Linked DNA regions of Homo sapiens: regions 1 and 2 are each linked to region 3. Evidence: promoter capture Hi-C in 16 types of primary human blood cells and fetal thymus (Javierre and others, 2016). All regions are on one chromosome and are shown on one strand. The core of a region is centred on a gene start or on the middle of the fragment in contact, and the rest is flanking DNA. Distances in the headings are between cores, read along the strand shown.

Evidence for each region. Contacts are between HindIII fragments. The CHiCAGO score rates a contact against its expected background, and 5 or more counts as called.
Region 1: a contact is called between a fragment that was not itself captured here and the fragment with the promoter of CDK17 in region 3, in 17 of 17 cell types (activated CD4 T cells, naive CD4 T cells, naive CD8 T cells and 14 more). The highest score is 27.1, in activated CD4 T cells.
Region 2: a contact is called between a fragment that was not itself captured here and the fragment with the promoter of CDK17 in region 3, in 1 of 17 cell types (activated CD4 T cells). The highest score is 5.2, in activated CD4 T cells.

The regions. Positions count from the first base shown.
Region 1 is chr12:96,069,250-96,071,949 of GRCh38, forward strand. No RefSeq gene overlaps it. Among named protein-coding and RNA genes, the nearest start is that of TRD-GTC2-8, 35 kb to the left of the region's middle. RefSeq lists an enhancer at 2,008-2,508. The HindIII fragment of the contact is 5,233 bases long and covers 1-2,700 here.
Region 2 is chr12:96,141,741-96,144,440 of GRCh38, forward strand. No RefSeq gene overlaps it. Among named protein-coding and RNA genes, the nearest start is that of LINC02452, 29 kb to the right of the region's middle. The HindIII fragment of the contact is 6,494 bases long and covers 1-2,700 here.
Region 3 is chr12:96,399,145-96,401,844 of GRCh38, forward strand. CDK17 (cyclin dependent kinase 17) reads right to left here and starts at 1,295. Exons shown (of 17, transcript NM_002595.5): 1 at 842-1,295. RefSeq lists silencers at 699-858, 1,039-1,218, 1,309-1,638 and an enhancer at 2,059-2,278. The HindIII fragment of the contact is 3,343 bases long and covers 1-2,682 here.

The sequences.
Region 1 (2,700 bases), core at 124-2,623, 330 kb before region 3:
GGTAGAGGGCAGGGGTGCGGCTAAACATTCTTCAATGCACAGGACAGCCCCCACAACAAAGAGAACCATCCAGTCCAAAATGTCAATGGTGCTGAGGTTGAGAACCCTGACCTAAACCAGTCCTGGTGGTCTCATTCCCTAGCTGTTAGTGGTTTAGATCCCATGATGTTAAGTAATTCTGACCAATGAGACGTGAGCAGAAATTGACAAGAGGAGTATGGCAGAGAATGTTAATTTCTCCCTACATTCACTTTACCTTTCTTTTCAGCAGAAGTTACATTCAGTGTTAGCTAGGCGCATGCCCAATTACAGACTATAATTCCCAGCCTCCATCGTTGCAAGGTGTGGCCAAGTTTTGGCTAATGGGATGTGAGAAAAAAATAATGAGTCTAATTTCTAGACCATGTTTTTAAGAAGGAGAATGCTTGTTCTTTACTTTCTCTCTTAATCCCTTTCTGCACACTGGGTGGTACTGCTAATCCAGCTTCAAGCAAGCACATGACTCCAGAGAATGGCAGAGCAAGACAGAAAGACTTACATACATTGGGACTGATACATGAAAAGAAAATAAATTGCTTTCTTCTTTGAACCATCGTATTTTTTAGTTTTTTTGTTTTAGCAGTTTAAGCTGTATGTATATGAGGTACTCCTGGGGAAGGTTTTTTCCTCTGTGATCACACACACACATACACACACACACACACACACACACACGGAGGGAATATTCATCTAAAGGATGTTGTAGGATTTGTGTGAGATGGCTGGAACCATGGCTGCTATCTTGTGACCATGAGGGGAGGTACCTGGTGGTTCAAAACTGCCCTGCTAAGTGAGAACGGAATAGGAAGGTTGTAAACAGCCCAAATCTTTCTTAACCTTGTTAAGCCATTGAGTTGACGAACTTTGCATCTGTCCTGTCTCAGGACTTCTTGTTAAGCAAGATGGTATATTTTTCATATCGTTTAAATATTTGGCCTTTAAATTTTCAGTAATAGTCCTTACAGTGATGGCTTTCAGACAGAAAATTAAAAATTTTAAAAAGTGCTATCCTAACTGATTCTCTCAATGTATTCAAGTGTAAAGAAATTACATGTCTAACCTCTCATGGAATTAGAGGGAAAAAATTTCATGTTATTTTAAGTATGTTCAGTTCTTTTATTAACTCATATTGGTTTCCCCCCTACTCCTTACCCTTGCAACCAAGATAATTTGCATCTAAGAGGTTTTATTCTGTTTCCACTGATATGTTTAGAAATTACTATATCTGAGGTGGGTATATTGGGAAAACATACACTACCACTCCTTTGCAGAAATGAGGGCTTATTGCAGCAGCTACTCGCCCTTGCAATGCTTCCTGCTTGGAAACTCGAAGGACTACATTGAGCAGGTGGAATAAAGTTGAATCGAAGGTTCAACTTACAAGCAGTCAGGAGGAGGTCTGCCCTGAAGCACTGTGCAGACTGGGACCTGCAGCAGGGCTGGGAGGGGGAGTGTCGAGGAAATGCCTTTTGCATGTCAATGGAGCCCCGTTGCTGTTCTGTGCTGCACAGCCACATGAGGTCATCCCAGATTAGAGGGTGCCCATGTCCAGGATCTTAAACCAATTACTTCCATCTCCATTGCTTCCTCTAAAGCCTCACTCTTAGTTCTACACAGTAATACTGCCTGGAAACTCCCCAAGGCCACCAAGCTCATACTAACAGGTTTGTGATGTGGGCAAACTCCTTACATGATCTCAAAATGAAAGAAGAGGCTGTTCACTGGAGGCAATAGCAAATCCCCTTTGTTCCTCTCTTGGCAGATGAGGGCCTTCGCTCTCTCCCTAAGGGTTCCGCCTGTCACCATCTGTGCACCCACTGTGGAAGGGCCAGCGCTAAGGTGAATTTCCATTTACTTCCTGCCAGCAGATGGCTCCTCCTTTTGGTCTCATCTTGAATTGTTTGCCAGACCAGCCAATTAGTCTCCTCACCCTTCCTGAAGCGTCCCAGGGAAGCAATATCATCACCAGCAGCCTATCATTATACCACGTCTTCTAAGCACCGTGATTCTAAATGCCTGCCGTGGAACAGAAGCTCATTCGCACATGGCTCTTTAACCCTTCCTTGAAAGACCTCAATTCAACATTCTCTCTCTCGCTCACACACACACACACACACACACAAATGCACACTCACACACAGTACCTACAACCTGATCCAAGATAGGAAACAAAATGACAGTATGCGGCATTCAATAATAAATTTAAAAATAAGACATAATTTCAGACAGAATGCAGAAGGAAAAACACAGTAACTATATTTTCTGATCCCCACTGAGGACACAATAAAAACTTTTTTTTAGGCCAGGCACGGTGGCTCACGTGTGTAACCCCAGCACTGTGGGAGGCCGAGGCGGGCGGATCACGAGGTCAGGAGGTTGAGACCATCCTGACTAACATGGTGAAACCCTGTCTCTACTAAAAATACAAAAATTAGCCTGACGTAGTGGCGTGTGCCTGTAATCCCAGCTACTTGGGAGGCTGAGGCAGGAGAATCTCTTGAACCAGGGAGTTAGAGGTTGAAATGAGCCGAGATCGCACCACTGCACTCCAGCCTGGCGACAGAGCAAGACTCCATCACAAAAAAAATAATGATACAAAAAAATTAATTAAATAAATAAAAATTAAAAATAAAAAAAAGTGGAGGGTTTTTTTTTTTTTTT
Region 2 (2,700 bases), core at 186-2,685, 260 kb before region 3:
ACAGACAGAACTGGGAGGTCAGTTAGTACCGGGGAAATGCACCAAGGTTCCACAGCCCATGGAGTCTGGCTTGGTGAGTTTGCACATCTTATGCATCCTCCTTTAATGCTGGAGGGTAATCCTGAAGTCATCTAAGCCTCATGGTATTAATGAGGAAAGCTAGGCCTGAAGAAGTGAGGTGACCCACAGGACTGACCACAGCTCACACAGTTAGTATTTGGGATCCTTTGTAGGACCCAGATTGACAACTCAGGGTAGCCATGCCTCTGCATTTACCCGGTCAAGAACCAGTGTGTTTTCATTTTGGGGCCCTGGCAATAAACTCCAGCTACTACAAGCATGGGACAAAACATTAAGACAAACCAAACCATTTTTTTTATTCAATGCATGGTGGCCAAGGATCTAGCATATGATGGGAGATGGGGCTCGAAAAGTAAATTTGAACCAGGTGGTGAAAGGCCTTGAATGTCTTGTTGTAGGACGTGGACTTGCCCTTAGGAGCTAGGAACCTTGAAGATTTTTAAGCAAGGGAAATGATGCGATCATATCTGTGTTTTAGAGAACCAAATCTGATGGGAAAGGGGAGGAGCAGAAGGTGCCAAAGCAGGATTAGAATGTATATAAACAGTTCAGGTGAGGATGATGAAGGCTTGAACTAGGGCAATGGAAGGAGAGAGGAAGGAAAACATTTAAAAAACACTGCAGGCCGGTCACAGTGGCTCACGCCTGTAATCCCAGCACTTTGGGAGGCTGAGGTAGGCAGATTACAGGTTCAGGAGTTCGAGACCAGCCTGACCAACATGGTGAAACCCCATCCCTACTAAAAATAAAAAAAATTAGCCGTGTGTGGTGGTGTGCACCTGTAATCCCAGCTACTCAGGAGGCTGAGGCAGGAGAATTGCTTAAAGCCTGGAGGCAGAGGTTGCAGTGAGCTGAGATCACGCCACTGCACTCCAGCCTGAGCAACAGAGCGAGACTCTATCTCAAAAAAACACAAAGAAACAAAACAAAACACTCCAGTTCGGGCACAGTGGTGCACGTCTGTAGTCCCAGCTACTGGGGAGGCTGAGGCAGAAGGATGTGCGTTCAAGCCCAGCCTGGGCAAAATAGGGAGACTTTTGACTTCAAAAAACATTCAAGTTAAAAAAATAAAAAGACACTGTAGTAATATCAATCAATAGGCCTTGGGGAAGGAGAAGAGAGAGGGATCTAGTCTGGCTCTACCAAGTAGATGAGGCAAAGGAGGACCAAAGAAGTCGTAGCGGGAGTAAGAGGAATCTGGACAGGCTGACGGATTTAGTTTTAGCCTAGTTTAGTCCCAGTTGTCAGTGGAGCATTCACTGAGATGTGTAACTCCTGGACCTACTGTACAATTTGTAAAGCAGCCTCTGATACTACACACAGGGAGGAGGGGCTGTTTCTCAAAACCCTGTTAAGAATAAATGGTAGAAATTAAGGAAATGGGATAAAAGTGGTTTCAATAAAGAGGAAATTGGGCTGGGTGTGGTGGCTCACACCTGTAATTCCAGTGCTTTGGGAAGCCAAAATGGGAGGATCGCTTGAGGCCAGAAGTATGAGACCAGCCTGGGCAACATAGGGAGACTTTCTCTCTACAAAAAAAAAGTGAAAAATTAGGTGGGCATGGTGACTGAAATGGGACGATCGCTTGAACCCAGAAGTCAAAGCTGCAGTGCACTATGATCATGCCACCGGACTACAGCCTGGGTGATAGAGCAAGACTTCGTCTGTAACATAAATAAATAAAGAGAAATTGATTGGGGGATAACTAGGGCAGAGCAGAAAGAGGAAGGATGCACCAAGGACCGCAGGGGAGAACAGGTCAAAGCAAGTCAGAGACAGACAAGAGGCAGGAGTAACCAAACAGGAAGGAAGAACAAAGGCAAGAAAATGGGGAGGGAGAGACCAGAGTGGGAAAGGGCAGACTTGAGTGTTGAAAGTACATCTCTGTTGGGAGGGTACAACTCTTTTCAAGGTTTCTTTCCCCCACCTCTCTCTTGGAACTGCTTGCCTTCGTTATATCTGTGCAAAAGGGATGTATGCAAAGGAGCCTGCTGGATGGTGGTGGTGGGCTGTCTCCTGGCTCACTTGGAGTTTGTTCATCAATAGTCTTTAGGAAGACTGCTTCTGCCTTAAAAAAATGTTGGGAAAATGTGGAATGTGTATAAGAGGCACACATATCCAACCTCCCCCTGGTATTTTTCTTTATCATCTTCCTCCTCACCTTCCTTTCAGTTTCCCAAGTCAAAAGGGCAGAACTTCCTGTCTGAATTTTAAAGCCTCTGTTGCCTTGATTTTGTTCCTGACTCAATGGAGATGAATTCCGAGTTGAAGACAAACAATTGTGCCTTGTGAACAGTCGCCACGTCGAAAAGACTCAAGAGTACTTTTGCGGAAACCTGTCTCAGGAAAAATTCCCAGTGTGGGAGGGAAGGAGGGTGAACTCCATCCTGGAAGGAGGAATTCCAGTTGCTCTGAAAATGTAATTTTCTAAGTAAATTCATTAAAGTTGAAATGTCTAATAAGAAAGGGGAAGCAAAGTTGGTTGCAAAGGGAGAAATTGCATACTGCAAAGCCACAAATTCCTAAGCAGCAAAATTTCTTTCTTTTTTTAATTTTTTCCAGAGACTAGCTTGAGTGCAATGGTGCAATCATAGCTCACTGCAGCCTTGAACTCCTATA
Region 3 (2,700 bases), core at 45-2,544:
GAGTCAATGTGGCAGTGTGGGGGTGACAGGAGGGAGGGAATCTGGAGCTATCCAGCTGAGTTGGGGAGCAAAAGCATCGGGCATAGCATCGGGCACAAAAATGCTGAGAAAAGCAACTGCGACGGAGACAGCACTAGGCACCCTCCTCCCCCCATTTTCCCCTCCCCATCGGTTTGCTGGGTTTCCCACCTTCCCTCTACCTCCGCTCTTGACCAACACTCCGGGGTGTGACCCGCCAGCAGGAGGCTGCCCTGATCTTTGTCTCTACCCGCTCCCACGCGCGGGCTCCTCCTCCTCCTCCGCGCTCCCCACCCGCGCACAGCGCCAGCGTCTCCAAGGAGCTGCAGGCGCCGCGACCGCCGCCTCCTCGCCCACCTCCCGCGGACCCGCGCCCCTTCCTTCCCCTCCCGGGCAGCGTCGCCTGCGCCTCCAGCTCCACCCCCGCCGAGGGGACCTTTGTGTCTCGGGGGACTTTCTGCCTCTTTCCCCTCCTCCGCCTCGCGAGGAGACCGGCCTCCCCCGCAGACCAAAGCGGCAGCGAGCACCGGAGGCGGCGGCGTCTATATCTGTCGGCGCCTCCTGGGAAGCAGCTCGCAGACACTCACACCCCACCCGAGCCCCGGAAATCCCCGGGCGACCCAAGGTCCTCGCTGGACCGGAGAGGTGACAGGCGCACGCTAGCCCCCCGCGCCGCGCCTCCTCGCTCAACTTCCCGACCGGGCCTGAGCCACCCGCGCCCCCAGTAGCCCCCGCCCCCGCCTCTGTCCCACGCAGCCTCCCGGCCCCGCGGCCGACCCGACACCAGGGGAAAGCGCGGCGCGGACGCCAGCCGCCAACTCACCAGCAAGAGCGGGGACCGCGGGTCCCGAGGCGAGGCGAAGAGAGGCGCGGGGGGAAGCTGCTCCGCGGACGCCCGCGGCGACCGGATGCAAGTCCGGGTCTCAGCGGCCGGCAGACGTGAGGCGCTTCCGAGCGCAGGCCTCCGCCGCCACAGCCGCCTTCCGGCTCTCGCCGCGGGTCCGGAGCCTCGGGAGGGGCCGCGGGTGTCTCACGCGTTGCCAAGTCCCTCGGTCAACATGGCTCCCGCGCCGACGAGCCGCGCGGACGGCCCACTAATCCCCTCGGAGCAGCCGGGCGCGAGCGCGGCGGGCGCCGACGGCGGGCTGAGACTGTCTGGCCGGGCGCTGGCTCCTTCTCCGCGGCTCTGCGGCGGCCCGCGGGGAGCTCAGGAGACTGCGGGCGGCCGCGTTCGCTCCTTGCGTGTGCGTCGCTTTCACACTCGGCGGCTGCGGATTGACGCCTCCGCCTGTTCCCCGGAGGAGAGCGAGTGCAAGAGAAAAAACACTTTTATTGAAACGATCCAACCAGCGGCGGCGGAGAAAAGCGACCGGCCGCGGGAGCTTACCCCACCCCCGCCTGAGCGGCTCGCCGGGGGCAGCGCGACCCCTGCCGGCGGCGGCGGAGGCGGGGGCGGGGCCGGCGGCCGGGGGCGGGGCCTGCAGGGCGGGGCGGGTGTCCCCGGGAAACTGCCCGCTCCGAAATGCGGGCGTCGGGGGAGCGGCGGAGGGGGCCAGGGGACCCCACCGGAATGAGTGCCTGTCCGCAGCGACTGGGGGAGAAATTATGTGAATAATTCAGCCCCTCCAACATCCCCCTGCCCCTCAACTTCCCGCTACCAAACCAAAACTCGTGCTTCAGTTATACAAGTAATTACTGTACAAGGTGTCCATGCCACAGTTCTCCACTGACTTTCTAGAGAGTCCATGTCAAAGGACCCACACTGAAAGATGTTGATGGCTGCAACTTTTCTCCTTTGTTGTGTGTGGGTACGTGGGTACTAGTGCCGCAGTCTCTCACACACACGGCATCTATTCATTTAAACTACAGTACAGTGTTTTGTATATATTATCATGTGCCCGGCAATATGCTGAGTCCTCTAAGGACGGAGAGTCTAGCTGGGATGAAAGATGATCAATAACTATCATAAAAATCTGAACGTTATGAGCGGAGAAATACAAGGTGCTATGAAAACAGAAAGGACTACTGTTGCACGGGTTAGGTTTTGTTTTCTTGGGGGAGGCGGGCCGCGAGAGGTTGGCCCAGTTTCTGCAACTGTTTTTACTTTCTCCTTTCCCAGAGGCTAAAAGCTAGTTCAGGAATGAACAGCAGAGTGGCAGTGAAGACAAACTAAAGTAATACTGACCCACTTTTTTCCACTAATAAGGATAAAAGCATAAAGTTAAAACAAACTTAAACCCCTAGAGGGAGATAATGAGAGGATTGAAAGAAGAGAGTAGGGACCGGATGTAGACAACATAAACAAGAAAAAAAAACCCACATAAAAGTCCTGTGAAGTGAGATAAATTTTTTTTCCCATGTTAACACCCGGAAGTAGAAGCTGCTTTGAAGTTTCAAATCACATTATGTGCTAAGAACTTCGGGGAATTATCTTTTTGGATTTAGGGATGAATCCTTTCCCCCTTAAAAATGCTGCATGCTGACATCTTTCTCTTATTTTGTTTGGCAAAGTTAAATGCATCTACAGTTATATCCAACGATCGTACGTGTCAATCAGGCTTTTCCCATGCCTCTAAAATTACCAGGACCCGTAAATTAGCAACAATTATGCTCTACGCGTATTTAACACTTGTTTACCAACCAAGAATGCAAATATACATAACAAGCTTTCCGTTAGAACAA